3 separate regions of the Homo sapiens genome follow, and all the other regions are linked to region 1. Evidence: promoter capture Hi-C in 16 types of primary human blood cells and fetal thymus (Javierre and others, 2016). All regions are on one chromosome and are shown on one strand. Each heading gives the region's core, a stretch centred on a gene start or on the middle of the fragment in contact. The rest is flanking DNA. Distances are from core to core; before and after follow the strand shown. Region 1 holds the start of CASD1 (CAS1 domain sialic acid O acetyltransferase 1). Region 2 overlaps VPS50 (VPS50 subunit of EARP/GARPII complex). Region 3 overlaps ASB4 (ankyrin repeat and SOCS box containing 4).

Region 1 (2,762 bases), core at 140-2,639:
TGGCTTTGATAGTATTAAGAGCCAAAAATAAAAGATCCTATCATTATTAATTTCCCTCTGCCTGTCAGCCTCTCTCCCAGTGACATTTTTACAAAGGAAAAAAAACAATCAATCAGCAAGGAGAAGTAAATATCCCTTGATTACTGAAAGATAATTCATTCTCAAATCAGGTCATATTTCCTTTTCCCCTTTACACCAATTTCAAAACCCATGGCCAAGGCCTGCTTTCAAAGTGCTTACAACTTGCTTTCAACTGCCCACCTTTACGCCTGTCAACCCACAACTTCCTTCCAAAAATCTGCTCTGGTGCCTTAACTTTGTAAAAAGTGTGCACTCCGAAGCCTTTAAACGTTTCTGCATCACAAAAGCTGGGTGGCACCTCTTCCATTTGGCCACAGGCATCTTTTGCCAGCTGTCGCCCTTTTGGCAAAGGAAAATGGGGGCGGCCCTTGCCGCTGTCCAACAGCCCAGACTGGGTGTTACAGGGCAGAGGCAAAATTAAACAAAGGCTAAGGAGCCGGACCCTTAAGAGGCAGGACCTGCGACCCCACTGCTGGCAGCGGTGCCCCTTGCAGGGCGGCCTTGGGCTTCATGCGCCCCGGGCTGCCCCCAAGGACCGCCTGTCCGACTTCCTGCACGCGAGCCCCTGATCTGGAGCGTCTCCCCGAACCCAGACCGCTCAGGAGCCGGACCTCAGCAGCACTTTTGGCCAGGTCCAGGGTTGGCGCCCCCGACCCCAGCGCGGGCGGCTCGGGGCGCCCAGAACCACCAGCCATTGTCCTTTGGTGGCCCCCACTGGGGTCCACTCAGTTGGCCTCGGGCGCCGGCCGCTGCTGGGGACACCTGGGGGAACCGCCTCCCCCGCGGGCCGGGCCGGCGGAAGGCCGCGTGGGCGTGTGTTGGGCGATGGGGGCGGCCTCCAGCCGCCGCGTCGCCGCCTCCCCCACGGCCTGCCCGGGCAGAGGGGAGGGCCCGCTCACCTCGGTAGCGGCGGGAGGCGAGGTGGCACGCTGCGAGCAGCAGCACGGCCACCAGCGCCAGCACCTTGGCGCTCCTCACGCTGAAGTAGTGGTTGATCTCCCGCTTGCCCAGGTTGTAGGCCAGAGCCGCCATCTTGGTTCCTCCATGACAACAGTGCGCGGCGGAGCGGGAAAGGGGCGCCGCACAGGGGCAGCACTGGGGCTGCCGCCGCTGCAGCCAGGCGAGGAGCGGCCGCCAGCTCCCCAGGCCGCCACCTGCGCCTCCCGCCGGGGAACCTGACCCCGCGGCCGCGGCGCCCCCGACCTCCGCCTGCCCCTCCTCGGCCGCGGCCGACTCGGCGGCCTCCCCCCAGCCCCGCCGCCGCTGCTCCGCCGTGCCGGTTCCCCAGGCGCCCTGGACGCCTGTCTCCTCCCCTTCCTCCTCCTCTTTAGCCTCCTGCCTTAATAGCGGCTGCGCCTGCGAGGGGGGTCCGGATGCCCAGTGCTCCGGGGTCACCGGGTCACGCGCCCCGGCGGGCGGCGGCGGCTGCGGCAGAGCCATGGGGGTGTGGGGAGAGAGTACTAGGGGTACCCGCCTGGCCCGGACGCGAGCCTTAGGGCTGTCTCCTAGTTTACTGGCCGCTACCTGAGCCCAGGTTGGGGCAATAGAACTACAGTTCCGGGAGAAAAGTACACATCGTCCCATTCCTTCCTTCCCCAACACTCCCCTTTCTCAGCCTTCTACTGCCAGAACCCGCCCAGCGGGATGCGAAGGACACCCTAAGGTCGTTTATTGTCTGGCTATCCGTGGCCTGGCTGGTCAGTCTGGCTGCCCCTGGGTGCTGGCCAGATTGGATTGATGGATCCAGTTGATGGTGCTGGCCGATGGATTGCTGGCATCCAACCCAGGAGTGAAACCAGTCTTAACACTTAACTCACCGCTCTGGCCAGTTTCTCTTAAACCGTTTTTTTAATGTCCTCAGTTTGCCCAGTTCTGGTGGGCGAAAGTACACCAAAGTTCCGAATGGAAGGTACAGAAGGAGCCTAACTTAGTGTAGGTGTTGATGAGAAAAGAGTCTGACTCTCACTTGTATTTACGCAAGTTTGGCTAGGTCGATGTGCCAAAAAAATTCGTTTTTTTTGAGAGGGAGTCTCACCCTGTCGCCCAAGCTCTAGTGCAGTGGCGTGATCTTCGCTCACTGCAGCCTCCCCCTCCTGGGTTCAAATGGTTGTCCTGCCTGAGCCTGCCGAGTAGCAGAGATTGCAGGCGCCCGCCACCACACCCGTTTAATTTTTGTATTTTAATAGAGACGGGGGTTTCACCATTTTGGTCAGGCTGGTCTCGAACTCCTGACCTCAAATGATCTGCCCATCTCGGCCTCCCAAAGTGCTGGGATTACAGGCATGAGCCACCAAGCCTAGCCAAAAAAAATTTTTCTTAATGTGCTTATGACAATCATCCCCGCTACTAACGTTGGTTAATGTTTTGTGATTCTCAATAAAGCCAGCACTCCATTTCCTTAATAAAGCATTGTTATCCCTACTCTCCTCTCGCTCCCACCCCACCTTTTTTAAATGGTTTTTCTTGTTGCCTTCCAGATGGGAATGGTTATTTACATTGCTTGCCATTCTACTTGCCTTGCCTTGTTTAGAGTGAGTCATTGTTTAGTTGGGGTGTTGTCAAGTATTCTTTACAACTTTCCCATTTAGCCATTCCTGAACTTGTGCTTATAGGCCCCTCTTAAAATTATAGAATATTAGATATGAAGGGACTGTAGAGATCTTGTCTACTCATTCCCATTC
Region 2 (2,762 bases), core at 190-2,689, 1.3 Mb after region 1:
TAGAAAGTATCTCTAGCACATAGAAACTCAATAAATTTGTGGAATATGCATAGGGAAAAGACCAGTAGGCAATGTTAACCTTGACAGTGTTGGTGATTTTTGTGATTTTTTTTTTAAGATACCTTTTTCCGTTTACCATGTTTTCTGTTTAGAGCATACATTAATTTTATATTTAAAGCAAAAGTTATTTCAAAATAATCATTTGAATTAACATTTTCCATTTTGTTAAAATGCTTTTAATCTTAATTTTAAAAGATCTTAAAGATCTTCTTCAATTACATCAAATTTCAGGTCATCAAGAACTAGCAACAACATTAATTTCAAAGCAATTATACAAAAATAAATCATTAAAATATATGTGTTATGATCTAAGTATAAAGTCTTATCTAAATTGTGAAAAAATACTGAACATTAAAGCTACATCAAGCTATGCTGTGTAGGGAATTTCTGAATATGAGTCTTCTTAACTCCTGATCTCAGTACTGACTTCAAACCTCATCCAAAGACTCAGTTTACTGACTGGAGCTTTGCCACTCTCTGGACCCAGCAACTCTCATGTTCTCAGAACCACCCAGAAAGAAGGCAGAAGCTCTGCTCACCCTCCATCATTTGTTATGCTATAGGAGAACACAGAAAAAACAAACAGGCAGATGAAGCTTGTAGGGATTTCTTAGTGTAAGGTTAAATGTAAGCTTATAGCATCAATACATTTTTTACTATTAACTGTTTTATTATTTAACTAACTTAGCTTCTTAGTATGTGCTAAAGAGACCAGTGCTTTAGGCTTACTCTTCACCTGAACCATTTATATTTGCTGACCTTGTGATCCCAGACTGGCCACTCCACCCAAGGCCAGTTATCCTAAAAGTACAGACAGCACTGGTCACTGATGGAGCTAGGGGTGTACATTTAATAAGAAGACTTTGTAATGAGATCACCATATTCACTACCAACCAGTACTGGGAAAACATCATGGCTCATGGTGGAAACACAACAGAAAGTTCTTGTTAAGACTGTAATGTATTTTTTTAAAGAGGCTCACTCATCAATTTGACATTGATTCTGCAATATGTAATACAATCTAATTCAAGGTATGTTCATAATGCATGATAATCTTTTTCTTAACTCAAAGAAATAAAGAGAATTATTGTCAATTAATTAGGATTTATGGCTATCTCTTGTTTCCCAACCTTTTCATAGTCATTAATTTTTAATAACATTACATAAAACTATACGGAATGCTTTTCTTAAGTTTTTGTCTGAACCATTTCATGCAAAAGGGTTGGTTATAATTTTATTGCATTTGGAGAATATGTTTCAGCCTAACCCAAAATAAAAACAATGCAGTAAATACAAAATTCACTTTAGCAGGTAAGGCACCTGAAAGAGATGAGAAATCATCCTCCTAAGGAGCTGACACCGAGGTGTAAGGAGAGGCCTTAAACTGCTGATCAAGAGAAGCACACCCTGTGTATTCAAATGCCTGATGCAGAAAACAAACAGTATTTTCACGTATCACTCTCAAATTAAAAAATACAAAAACAGACATTCAGAAGTGCCAGCTTAATCTGTGATGGAGCAGCTATTCACATGGGCAGCTCCAAGCAGCAACACTCCAGAAAAACAGCAGGGATTTAACAATACTTAATAATTCCAAGGGGAATCTAGCTAGCTTTCAAATAACCTATATAAAATTTGTAAACTGAGAAATTCACGTGAATATCAGAGGATTAAAATCTAAAATACCTACAATCTAGGAGATAAGTTATACAATTCAGTATAAATACTATGGTTTAGATGCTTTTTCAAAAACCTCTGCTCCACAACAAAAATATAATCATGATTTTTGGCACAGAATGTTAGGAGTATAAAAAGTCAGTAGTCAACTATTTCACTTTATTTCTACAAATTACAGCAGATAAATCAATGAGAGAGAGAGAGAGAGAGAGTGTGTGTGTGTGTGTGTGTGTGTGTGTGTGTGCATACACATATATACAACTGCTTTCAGGCTAAGAATTTAATATAATAAATTCCAAATTTATCAAGTTTGCATTTTTTGCTTTGCTATAATGCATCATACATACTGCATCCCAACGTGTAATGAAACAAGCCCTACACCTACTATACAATAAAAATTTACCTAGCTTATCTTAACAACCATCTGCCTGTGGGAAAGAAAAGCTTCTGTGAATCAATTACTATCCAGAGGCAATCATATTTTCTTAAGGAAGTAAAAAGTCACGCTCACACGTGTAGCTCAATACCTTTCCAGGGACCCGGAGACTCTCTATGGCACCAAGATCACTGAGGCTTTCTTGAGGGCTTTTCAGACCCTTAAAAAAATAATAAGATGAGGAAAATTTTAATCATGCTGAAGAATTATAAAAGGATAGAATACACCTACTGAAACAGAAATGACCACTTTAAAAATAGAAATTTTCCTGCTTCAAAATATGGAAGATATATTCTAAAAGCAATCATCATTTAATACATATAGTACTATTATTAAATCAGAGAAGGGTGTACTTTTGGTATTTTAAAATAAAAGAGTATTATACGGCAACTTCACAACTAATGGTAGAAGTCCAACCCATCTATGATTTGAAAACAGCCAAAAGTAAAGAAACTTACATAACAAAAAGCATTCTATAAAAGCCACTTGTATATACAATAATAATTACTAAATCCATCAGGAAAAAAGTCCAAGCAATAGTATTATGATTCACAGATACAATATACTAACCAACTAAGCTAACATATAA
Region 3 (2,762 bases), core at 84-2,583, 1.0 Mb before region 1:
TTTGGTAAAACAAACAGAAATGCTGACTAATTCAGCATCTTTACCTTCTCTCTATCCTTTTAGGGGAAGTAGGGTCTCTCCTCCAATTTAAGACCAACACCTTCCTCTTTGCAATTGATCATACACCCAGCAGTAGAACATTGCTCCACAAGTAATTTATCTCTATTATTTACCCAACATCTCCATTCCCATGGACTCTTTGCCCTCATTTTCTAAGCATACTTAAGCTTTTGCAACTCTTTTCTCCCTTTTAGCTAACCTCCAATTTCTTTCTATTGCTTTTTGTTTGAACTCCTTGAAAGGGTGGTCTCTGTTTTCCACATCCACTGTCTCACCACCGATACACTCCTCAGTCCATCAAACCTTGCCTCTGTCCCCACACTCCACTGGAACTGCTCAGACGAAGATCACTAGTGGCCTGTAATTGATTATCTACATTTTTCAACCTTCCAGTTACCACACCTCTCTACTATATCTAATGGTATTGATGACTCATTTCTTGAAATTCTTTTTTTTTTTCAGTTTCCTTGGGTGTGCTTTCTTCTCCCTCTCTGAAAACAAAGTCTGTGATGATTTTTCTGTGATTTCCTTTCTTCTCACTCCCTAAATTTTTGCCTCACTTTGGGCATCATCATTTGCTCCTTGCACTTCCTATTATACATAACTTCCTGGAGAAATCAAAACTACTATTTTCTCTTTATCTGTGAACAGACAGGTCCCCAAATTCTATCATCATATATATGATAAAAGACTCGTGTCTAGAATACATAAAGAACTATTAAAACTAGACCTGGCATGGTGGCTAACGTCTGTAGTCCCAGCATTTGGGGAGTCTGAGGCAGGAGGATTGCCTGAGCCCAGGAATTTGAGGTTACAGTGAGCTATGATGGCTCCACTGCACCTCAGCCTGGGCAACAGAGTGAGAACCTGTCTCCAACAATAACAACAAAAAAAATAGAACTATTACAACTCAATAGAAAAAGCCAAATAACCCAATTTAAAAATGGATAAAGTATATAAACAGACATTTCTACAAGAACAAACCATGCAAATGATCATTAACACAGGGATAGGAAACACTTTCTTTCTGGACATGGAAAGCTTGAGAGGATAACTAAACATCCAGTGGAGACAGATTATATATAGTTGGATAGATGAGTCTGGAGTTCAGAGCAGAGGCTCAAGCTAGAGATACCAAGCTGAAAGTGAACACCATTTGATGACATTTGAAGTCACAGAAGCAGATGGGATCACACAGGTTTGAGTTCAGATGGAGAAAAGGGCCTCTTAGACTGAGCCCTAGGACATGCAAATATTTAAACACAGAAAAGAGTAGCAGATCCAGCAAATAAGACTGAACAAAGACCAGTGAAGGAATAGGAAAACAGCTCGGCTTTATAAATGCTTATTAAACCAAACTTTTTGACACTTGGTCTGCTCTCATGACAAGTTTCTTCTTCTTTAACAGCTACTCGTATTTTTTAAGCCATATTGAAAACAGGAAGCAAATATCACAAACTATTTCCCCTGTCTCCTGAAGCAAATCTTTTTCATATCAAAGCTTATCTGCCAACTCCACAGAATATTGCTTCTCATCCTTTGGGAGACACATTTTTTTCATTGAACCCATGTTTATTTATCATTTTGTTTATTTTTAACTTACTCAACCTTAAAGAAAGGATATCTTTCTAGACATGCTATTGGAGAATAACCAAGATGCAGACACTGAGCTCAGTCACCCTGTATTTATTTTATTTTTTATCTTTTTAATTCCAAAAAACCATTGATTAAAATTTTGCAAAGTAACCATAGATAAGACTGAATAACTCAGACTTTGGAATATGTACCATTACTGTATTATTTTGCACTAATCTGTTGGGCTCATGAAATCAGACCATATATTATGGTCAGAAAGGTGTTTTCGTTGAAGGAAATTAATGCTGCTATTATCATTCAACTGAAAAAGAGGTTAACCCTGAGGAAGACTGATTTTTTTAGAAGATACAAGTTTGGATAAAGTGATAAGGACTTCTTCCTCCACTCAGGGACAAAATTCTGTCTGTTCTGGACTCAAAGGCAAGAGGAGGCCTGGACCAGCCCTAGGGGTAGAGGTGAATGGCCCTGGCTCATGGAGGCAGGACTGGAGTGAAACAGGGAGATAACATGGCATGAAGGAGAGTGGTACCAATGGGGCTTTGGGTTATTAGAAGCCAATTGTATGAGAAGGAATTTGTCAAGCAACAGTGAGCCTACTTTTTTGAGTGGCAGCAACAGCAGCAAAAGCAAGGGTGATGGTGCCCATCTCTGGAGCAGCCAGCATCTTTGATAATAAGTAAGGAGTCCTTTAGTCCAGGGGGAATACCAGGGTTTATTCTACAACCAGTGCCTTACAGAAAGAGCAACTGCAGCTGGGCGCAGTGGCTCACGCCTGTAGTCCCAGCACTTTGGGAGGCCAAGGTCGGGGGGATCACAAGGTCAAGAGATTGAGACCATCCTGGTCAACATGGGGAAACCCCGTCTCTATGAAAAACACAAAAATTAGCTGGGCTTGGTGGCACATGCCTATAATCCCAGCTACTCTGGAGGCTGAGGCAAGAGAATCACTTGAACACGGGATGCAGAGGTTGCAGTGAGCAGAGATCACATCACTGCACTCCAACCTAGCGACAGAATGAGACTCTGTCTTAAAAAAAAAAGAGAGAGAGAAAGGAAAAAGAAAAGAAAAGAAAAAAAAGAAAAGAAAAGAAAGAAAGAAAAGAAAG

Evidence for each region. The method cuts DNA at HindIII sites, captures the fragments that hold promoters and counts their contacts. A CHiCAGO score of 5 or more calls a contact.
Region 2: a fragment that was not itself captured here is called in contact with the fragment with the promoter of CASD1 in region 1 in 4 of 17 cell types (naive CD8 T cells, naive CD4 T cells, activated CD4 T cells and 1 more); the score reaches 7.6 in naive CD8 T cells.
Region 3: a contact is called between a fragment that was not itself captured here and the fragment with the promoter of CASD1 in region 1, in 1 of 17 cell types (M1 macrophages). The highest score is 6.3, in M1 macrophages.

What each region holds. Positions count from the first base shown.
Region 1 is chr7:94,508,436-94,511,197 of GRCh38, reverse strand. CASD1 (CAS1 domain sialic acid O acetyltransferase 1) reads right to left here and starts at 1,389. Exons shown (of 18, transcript NM_022900.5): 1 at 981-1,389. The coding sequence starts at 1,113. RefSeq lists silencers at 726-1,085, 1,186-1,335, 1,376-1,595 and enhancers at 129-1,115, 1,116-2,104. The HindIII fragment of the contact is 8,005 bases long and covers 1-2,762 here.
Region 2 is chr7:93,239,437-93,242,198 of GRCh38, reverse strand. It overlaps VPS50 (VPS50 subunit of EARP/GARPII complex), which reads right to left. Exons shown (of 28, transcript NM_017667.4): 2 at 2,265-2,333. Among named protein-coding and RNA genes, the nearest start is that of VPS50, 8.5 kb to the right of the region's middle. The HindIII fragment of the contact is 1,489 bases long and covers 695-2,183 here.
Region 3 is chr7:95,515,359-95,518,120 of GRCh38, reverse strand. The region is part of intron 2 of ASB4 (ankyrin repeat and SOCS box containing 4); the gene reads right to left. Among named protein-coding and RNA genes, the nearest start is that of ASB4, 31 kb to the right of the region's middle. The HindIII fragment of the contact is 460 bases long and covers 1,104-1,563 here.